Linked DNA regions of Homo sapiens: region 1 is linked to region 2. The links are contacts of gene promoters, found by promoter capture Hi-C in human tissues and cell types (Jung and others, 2019). All regions are on one chromosome and are shown on one strand. Each heading gives the region's core, a stretch centred on a gene start or on the middle of the fragment in contact. The rest is flanking DNA. Distances are from core to core; before and after follow the strand shown.

The links. Contacts are between HindIII fragments. The study calls those that stand out against the background at their distance.
Region 1: a contact is called between a fragment that was not itself captured here and the fragment with the promoter of DNAJC19 in region 2, in 1 of the 25 tissues and cell types used here (hippocampus).

What each region holds. Positions count from the first base shown.
Region 1 is chr3:181,168,638-181,172,647 of GRCh38, reverse strand. All of the region lies in intron 2 of SOX2-OT (SOX2 overlapping transcript), which reads right to left. Among named protein-coding and RNA genes, the nearest start is that of SOX2-OT, 110 kb to the right of the region's middle. The HindIII fragment of the contact is 4,390 bases long and covers 1-4,010 here.
Region 2 is chr3:180,987,347-180,991,559 of GRCh38, reverse strand. DNAJC19 (DnaJ heat shock protein family (Hsp40) member C19) reads left to right here and starts at 1,824. Exons shown (of 6, transcript NM_145261.4): 1 at 1,824-1,960; 2 at 3,331-3,382; 3 at 3,464-3,537. The coding sequence starts at 1,958. The HindIII fragment of the contact is 9,710 bases long and covers 1-4,213 here.

The DNA of each region.
Region 1 (4,010 bases), core at 937-3,436, 180 kb before region 2:
ATAAATGCTCTAAACCTAGATAATTATTAACTGAATCATGATAAATACAACACAATTTAATATGTCCATTAAAGATCATGCCTTCAAATAATTCTTAATGACATAGAGAAATATTCATACTAGGTTAAAAAATCAGGACATGAAACCATATATTACGGTATCTCAAATATATATATAATACCTATGTATGTGTTTAAAATGGCAATAGTATTTCTTTTTGGATAAAGTACTTTCAAATGGTTTTAATTTTCTTGTTATAATTTTTAATTTCCATAAAACATTTTAAATTATTATTATTATTATTTAAGACAGAGTTTCGCTCTTGTTGCCCAGGCTGGAGTGCAATGGCGCGATCTTGGCTCACTGAAACCTCCGCCTCCTGGGTTCAAGTGATTCTCCTGCCTCAGCCTCCCAAGTAGCTGGGATTATAGGCATGCAGCACTACGCCCGGCTAATTTTGTATTTTTAGTAGAGACGGGGTTTCTCCATGTTGGTCAGGCTGGTCTCGAACTCCTGAGCTCAGATGATCCACCCACCTCAGCCTCCCAAAGTGCTGGAATTATAGGTGTGAGCCACCGCACCTGGCCTAAATAATTGTTTAAACTCTTACTCTTATAACAGTTCATGAAGAAGGAGTTGCAGTAGGTGCACCATTTCATAGCACTGTATGCTGTTTGGTTTCCCTGTAACCTGGCCTACCTCTATTTGATAGCACTGTATGTGTAGCATACAGTGTAGCATAAAGTCAGAATCTATGCCAAAATTCACTCTGGTGCTCAGCACTAAGATCTGGAAATGAGCTGTACTTCCAGAACTGGGAAGTAAGCTTAAATTCTAAAATTTAAAGAAGGAAAATCCAAATATATTGGATTCACAAAATTTCCTGACCTAAGAAGCTATCAGCATATGGGTTACCAAAGGCATTTTGACAATGGAGAATTCAGAAAAATGACTCAGGAATGAACTTGGAAAGATATGTATATGCCAATATGTCCAGGTTAGAGAAATCAATGAAACCAAGAGTTAGCCTTCTGAAAAGATAAATGTAAAAATCAACTTATACAGGCTGTGTGCAAAACCAACAGCTTCAGTCCAATCAATTAGGAGCAACAGACAAAACGGACAAATCATAAGAAATCTCAGTAACAAGGTCCAAGTAGTGATCTAATCAATTGCAGGAGTGTCTAAATAGAGAGACTAGGTTGCATCTAACAAAGGGACTCTCTATGTGAATTCTTTTAAAAGGGGGTAATAAGTAAGCACTTGTCCCTTCCTTTCTTCCTACCCACAGGGGAGCTAGAACCTGGGGGCAGGAAGGGAGGTTGATGGGAGAGCAGACCCTATCCTCCCACCCCTCCTTGTTCCTCAGTCAAACCTGATCCAGGGTTCAGGGAAACAGTGGAGAGGAGGAGAGCCTAGAGTGTTTTAATTAGACTGTACTAGTCTTTAGTAACTAAGTGTCTGGGAAGTTATGGAATCTTCCAAGGTATCATTAACAGTCAGGAATGCAACAGGGCAAAGTTAAAGGTGGAGAAGAGTGAACTCAATTTGGATTACTCAGTACAGGAATTACATGTGTATTATGTCTTTGTTGAAGGAAAACGTATCAAAGCTAGACTTTTCAAGAAACTTCAATTCATAAAAAGCAAAGGTCAAGAACATGAAAGTACCATATGATTCAGCAATTGCACTTCTGTGTATATGCCCAAAAGAACTGAAAGCAGGGATTCAAACAAATATCTGTACACCAGTGTTCATAACAGCACTATTCACAATAGCTAAAAGGTAGAAGCAACCCAAAAGTCCACCAATGGATGAATGGATAAGCAAAATTTGGTATATACATAGAAGGGAATATTAGCATTAAAAAGTAAGGAAATTCTGACACACCCTACAACATGCATGAACCTCGGAGATATTATTCTAAGTAAAATAAGCTACTCACAAAAGGACAACTATGGTATGAGTCCACTTATACGAGGTACCTAGAGCAGTCAAATTCATAAAGACGGAAAGTAGAATGGTGGCTTCTGGGGACTTGGAGGAGGGAATGAAGGGGTAGTGTTTTATAGGAACAGAGTTTCATTTAGGAAAGATGAAAAAGCTCTGCAGATGGATGGTAGTGGTGATTGCACAACAATGTGAATGTACTTCATGCCACAAGTTGTATACTTAAAAATTGTTAAAATGGTAAATTTTATGTTTTGTATATTTTACTACAATTCCAAAAAGGAATATAAAAATCTTGTTTCCTAAACTCCTCAATTATTTTATTTTATTATCATCCAGTATAACAGAATTAAAGAAAAGGGAAAAAAGGAGAGGAGAAAAAATGGGAGGGGAGGGAAAGGGAGAGGATAAAGAGAGAAATGAAGGGGAGAGGCAGCAAGGGAGGGAAAAAAGGGAAGGGCTGCTATATGCAGTCAGCTGTGCAATTTGTACACTTCACCCAGATACCAGAGGGGCAAATGGGGGTAAACTTCAGTCAGGAGTTATGCTGACTGAGTTGCATGCCCTGGGGCTGGACTTCAACAGGTGGGAGGAAGGGATGTCATTTTGTAATTCGTCTGTCCAGAGGGGACATCATTTGTTAATTTGCAGAATGGCACTGTATGTATCCACAGGCCTTGGAAGAGAGACAGATTGGTATGTGAACAGATTTGGTGGCTCACACCTGTAATCCCAGCACTTTGGGAGGCCGAGGCAGGTTTTCTTTCAAGAGAAGAATAAAAACTTGAAAATATCAGAATACAATGTCTGTACTAGGCATAAGCGTTTTTAATAACAATTTTGCTGCACTTGTATGTGTGTGTGCATGCATATTGGTCATGATCTAAAATGCATTTCTGAGTGAAGGTAACAACCACAAAAAGCTTGAGGCATTTGACTTCTCTAAATTCAGAGATTACATCAGAAGGGCTTCAGAGCTTTGCCATGGCATTCATACCTCTATTATAAAATGAATTGGATTTTACAAAAGTAAATTTTTGTATGTCTATTTCCCCATCAGACCACAGGATCCTTCATGGAAGGGCCTATAACTTCTCCATCTTTGAAAATCAACTCAGCACAATGCATTTTTGTTGAATGAAATAATAAATGAGGCTGGGCGCAGTGGCTCACACCTGTAATCCCAGCACTTTGGGAGGCCGAGGTGGGTGGATCACCTGAGGTCAGGAGTTCAAGACCAACCTGGCCAACATGGTGAAATCCCGTCTCTACTAAAAAAATACAAAAAATTAGCCGGATGTCATGGCGGGCGCCTGTAATCCCAACTACTCAGGAGGCTGAGGCAGGAGAATCGCTTGAACCCAGGAGGCAGAGGTTGCAGTGAGCCAAGATTGTGCCATTGCACTCCAGCCTGGGCTACAAGAGTGAAACTCTGTCTCAAAAAAAAAAAAAAAAAAAAAAGAATAAATGATAGCATTAATAAAATACGTTCAGAAAAAGACAAATAGCTCCTGGTGTTGAGGCAGGAGAAACAAAGGATAGAATCACACTTTTGACGGTGATACAGGTTCTAGGAAACAGCTGTGAGCTTCAAAGCCAGACTGACTTCAATTATGATTTCCTATTTTGTCCCTAAGGACTGTGTCACCTTGGACAACTTTCCTAACCTCACAGAGTCTTAACTTTTTCCTCTGAAAAATAGGGATATTCTATTTCACTTTCTGTGTGGTAAGATAGGCGAGGTAACATTGCATAAAGTGCTTAACATATTATTTGTAGCATAGTAAGTGTGCTATATTTGTATTAGTATGATAAATAAATATAATATCTAGCCCACATCTGCCATACTGTAGACACTCAGGAACAGTAGTTATGATTGTAGCTGTGCAGTTGATTGCAATTTTTAATATGACAAAATAACATTGAAAATCTAATTACTTATTTTAATTTGGAAATAAAAATGGAATATCCCACTCCCCACTCCCTACAAAGGAGTATCTTTCTTCATTGCTTTTCTCTATAAAATTTATTAAACTATTATATATACTTTACTTGTATAT
Region 2 (4,213 bases), core at 575-3,074:
AAGAGGAAACCAGAAGGAGATTTTACAAACAGAAGAGAAGGACAATGTGAAGATGGAAAAGTTGGAGCAGAGTGAGATTTCAAGATGCTGGCTTACAAGACTGCAGTGATTCAGTCACAAGTCAAGGAATGCTGGCAGTCACCAGAAGCTAGAAGAAATGAGGAATGATTATCCATTCATCAGTCAGTGGACATTTAAAAAGATTACTTTTCAAGGCTGTTTCTAGGATCTTGGCAGGTAGGTAAGAGGCAACCAGACTTAAGATTCATGAGTGAGGTATCATGAGAATGAGGAAGGCTTCTACACTCCAATTTGCACTCTGGCTTCCCTCATAATAATAGCCCCACACTGAGTGATGACCATAAGCAGAACACAATATGTGCATAATCTCTACGTTCACAAAAACTCGGCAAGGTAGTTATCATTACCTTCATTTTACAAATGAGGAAGAAACTCAATCAGAAATAACTTTTCCAAGTCACAGTATTAGTAAGTGACAGAGCCAGGTTACCTCCAGTTTGATCTGCCACCAAAAAAAGAGCTATCTCCAGCTCAACAAAATGTCTTGCTGTGTTGCTACTCCCAATTTCCTGAGTCTGGGTTTTGTAAAGTCTCAAAGCTAATTAGAGTCTACTGTAAATCTATTCCTCCAGAAACTGCATTACACAGTTTGTACATACCAAAAATATGCATAATAAATTTTTCCAGATAGCATTCTAGCTTGTTGATGCCAATTTGGTCCCAAGGTCTTATGCCTCACTTGATTATTTATTTTGTAATTGTTGGGTAAAAACCAGATAAAAGAGAGGCAAAAGAGGAAGTTATAAACTTAATGCTAGTGTCTTAGTGCTGGATGTCACCTTAAATCATGTGTTGACAATAAATTACATCACAAAAACCTTAGCGCTAGAAGAGCTCTTGGATTATCAAATGCAAACTGCTTTTACAGATGAGGAAAACAAACCCAAAAATTTTGCATATTTGTTTAATAACTAACAAACTCATCAAAGCAGAATTGCATTGCAATGTAAACGGATATTTAACACTGTAAATTCTGAGTGGGAAGTAACTCCAAACTTATTTTGATCATGCAAACGTTGCATTGTAAAATTCCATTATTGTCTCCATTATTTTTTTCTTCTCAAGCATTTATGTAGGGATGTATGAAACTGATGTCCACGTAAGGGCAAAATCCAGCCCTACTTTTTATTTTGGGTGAGGAGGAAAACTTTTAAATAGCCCTTTTCAGTTGTAGGATCTTGACATTCCATGTTCAGAATATGAACTGTCTTTAATCCCATTCTACAAAACGAAAACCCAAATATTCACAAAGTCTTGTCAAGTCACATCCTTAAATGAAGTTCTTTTACATTAAAAAATGCTACCGAGCAATCCCTGAAACACAGTGTGGTTGGTTTCATTTGTTTTTCTGGGCATCTCGTTTCCTACACTGGGTTACAACATATTTGTTTGGGTTCGTGGTGGAAATGTCACAGCATGTTTAACTACATTCATTACCCTTGACAATTATTAACATAAAATAAAGGCAAAACGAGGTGCTAAGATGTAGGGGGAAAAAATCGGTCTGAGTAAGGCTGCCCATGCCCTTCCCTGCAAGAATTTCCAAATACCCACCGCCCAGGAGCAAAGGACAGAAAACACAGAGAAGCCCCACCCCTACACCCAGAAATAAAGAGATCCGCCCACCCTTCAACCAACCCGAAGTCGCTTTCTCCGCTCTGTCCACTGCTTGAGCGACTTTCCTTCTCCTCCGCGTCCCCTTTTACGACAGTTTTCCGGCCTAGTTTGCGGCTGCTCCTGCCGTGTTGCGTAGGGCGCCTGTGCTTGAGGTTGGGGGTTGCGTCGCTCTCTGGTAAAGGCGTGCAGGTGTTGGCCGCGGCCTCTGAGCTGGGATGAGCCGTGCTCCCGGTGGAAGCAAGGGAGCCCAGCCGGAGCCATGGTGAGTGCGGCCTTCCGGTCTTCTTGGCGACCTCCGGCCCAGGCCTCAACCTCAGCTCCCCGCCTCGGAGGTGTGGAGTTGAAGTTGTGCTCCTTAGTGCGACTGCGGGCGGGAGGTTTCGGTTATTGGGGAGTCACACTCACCAGGACACAACCCTGTTGGCTCGCTCTCTTGGGGGTTTGTGTTTTTACATCGTCTTTCTGCACGGTTCTCCAGCTTCTTGTCCGCACGGGCTCTGCAGGTGTTGCTTGCCTGGAACTCCTGTAAGGTCAGAGGCTGTCATGGACTCGGAGATTAGTGGAAACGTATTTGATTATAAGTGCCCTTGCCCTAACACATCTTCACAGCACTAGCTCCACTTTGCTATGTCCTTCTCTTTGGCTTTTGCTGACAGATGTCTTCTCCATGCTTCCTGAACATATTTGGGCCTGTCTTGTTAGGAAACAACAGGGCAGTGCCAAAGGTATTAGTCTCCTAGTTTAGCCCACGTTTAGCCTCGAAAATGCGTTGTTAGAATTTTACAGGAGCCGTCTGTAAACAGTTTTTCCTTCTGTAGCAGAAACCTTATTTCCACATTTTTTTTTTTTTTTTTGAGACAGAGTCTTGCTCGGTCGCCTAGGCTGGAGTGCAGTGGCACAATCTTGGCTCACTACAAGCTCCGCCTCCCGGGTTCGCCATTCTCCTGCCTCAGCCTCCCAAGTAGCTGGGATTACAGGCGCCCACCACCACGCCCAGCTAATTTTTTTTTTTTTTGTATTTTTAGTAGAGACGGGGTTTCACCATGGTAGCCAGGATGGTCTCGATCTCCCGACCTAGTGATACGCCCGCCTCGCCTCCCAAAATGCTGGAATTACAGGCGTGAGCCACCGCGCCTGGCCTATTTCCACTACTTTTGATTGAACTTTAATGTGACTTAATTTGTCTGGTGATGAAAGAAGTTTTCAAAGGGAGGGAATCATCTTTTTCACTATTGTAAAGATAAATAAGCAAGTCGAACTTGCCCTCTTTCCCATATGATGAATCCTGTAACTTTAATGCATTCAGCATAACAGATGCAGTAGTTTTAAAGATTACTGGACAGAATATTTCCGCCTTAAAAGTTGTTTCTCTGCCAGGCATGGTGGCTTATGCCTATAATCTTAGCACTTTGGGAGGCCAAGGTGGGAGGATTGCTTGAGGCCAGGAGTTCAAGACCAGCCTAAGCAACATAGCAAGACTCCGTCTCTTAAAAAAAAAAAAAAAAAAAGAAAAAAAAAAGTTGTTTCTCCTATTAAAATGCAGTTTGTAATGAGTTGGGGATGGAAGAATGGGCAAAATGAGAAAGGGTGGGAATTAGAGAAGTAAATATTTACTCTTCTCCCCCTTACCAGGCCAGTACAGTGGTAGCAGTTGGACTGACCATTGCTGCTGCAGGATTTGCAGGTTTGTTTATGGTTTGGGGATGGAAGTGAAGTCGGGGAGATTGGAGATTTAGTTTACTTATTCTGTTGCTTTTGGTTTTAGGCCGTTACGTTTTGCAAGCCATGAAGCATATGGAGCCTCAAGTAAAACAAGTTTTTCAAAGCCTACCAAAATCTGTAAGACTTTGTTAATTCTTTGCTGCTTCTATTTGAAACCTAGAGCCACACTTAGGGAAGGGTAAATTTCCAAATATCCATGAAGTTCTAAGTGATTGCTTTGGACCCATTCTCCTGCTTCCTGCAAGGAGAGTATAGAAGTTCTGAACTTTGTGATGGTGCTACCCTGAAACATCAGATGTTATATGTGACAGAGTTGGATGGGGTTTTGACAATTCTAGTACCCCACTAGACCCAAGTTTCACTTTTTCACATACCATCACCTTCAGCATCATCTGTACATATTCTTGTTTTCCTTCATCTGCTCTGCATCGCACACACAGAGGTATATGATTCTAAAGTGATCCGATCTGACCATGTGGCCCTGGCACTCCCAAACATCATACATAGGTAGCACTCTAGTTAATTAGGCTATAGGGTTTGGCTTGATGTTATGGTCATACTCTCTGTGGTCACAGTTAAGAATAGATTTGGCTGTGATCACCTGTTGAATATGTTGTGATTAAGTGTAACAGAATAGAGTGATTGTAGGCTTTACCAATATGATTTCTGACATGGCAAGGTCAGAGGACCTAATAGTGGTATTTTCTGTATATATATCTTAAAGTCTTGTTTCAAATACACTTGAACCTCTTGTCTCAAAAGACTTCTGTTCTTGAGCCACTTCTTGCAGATT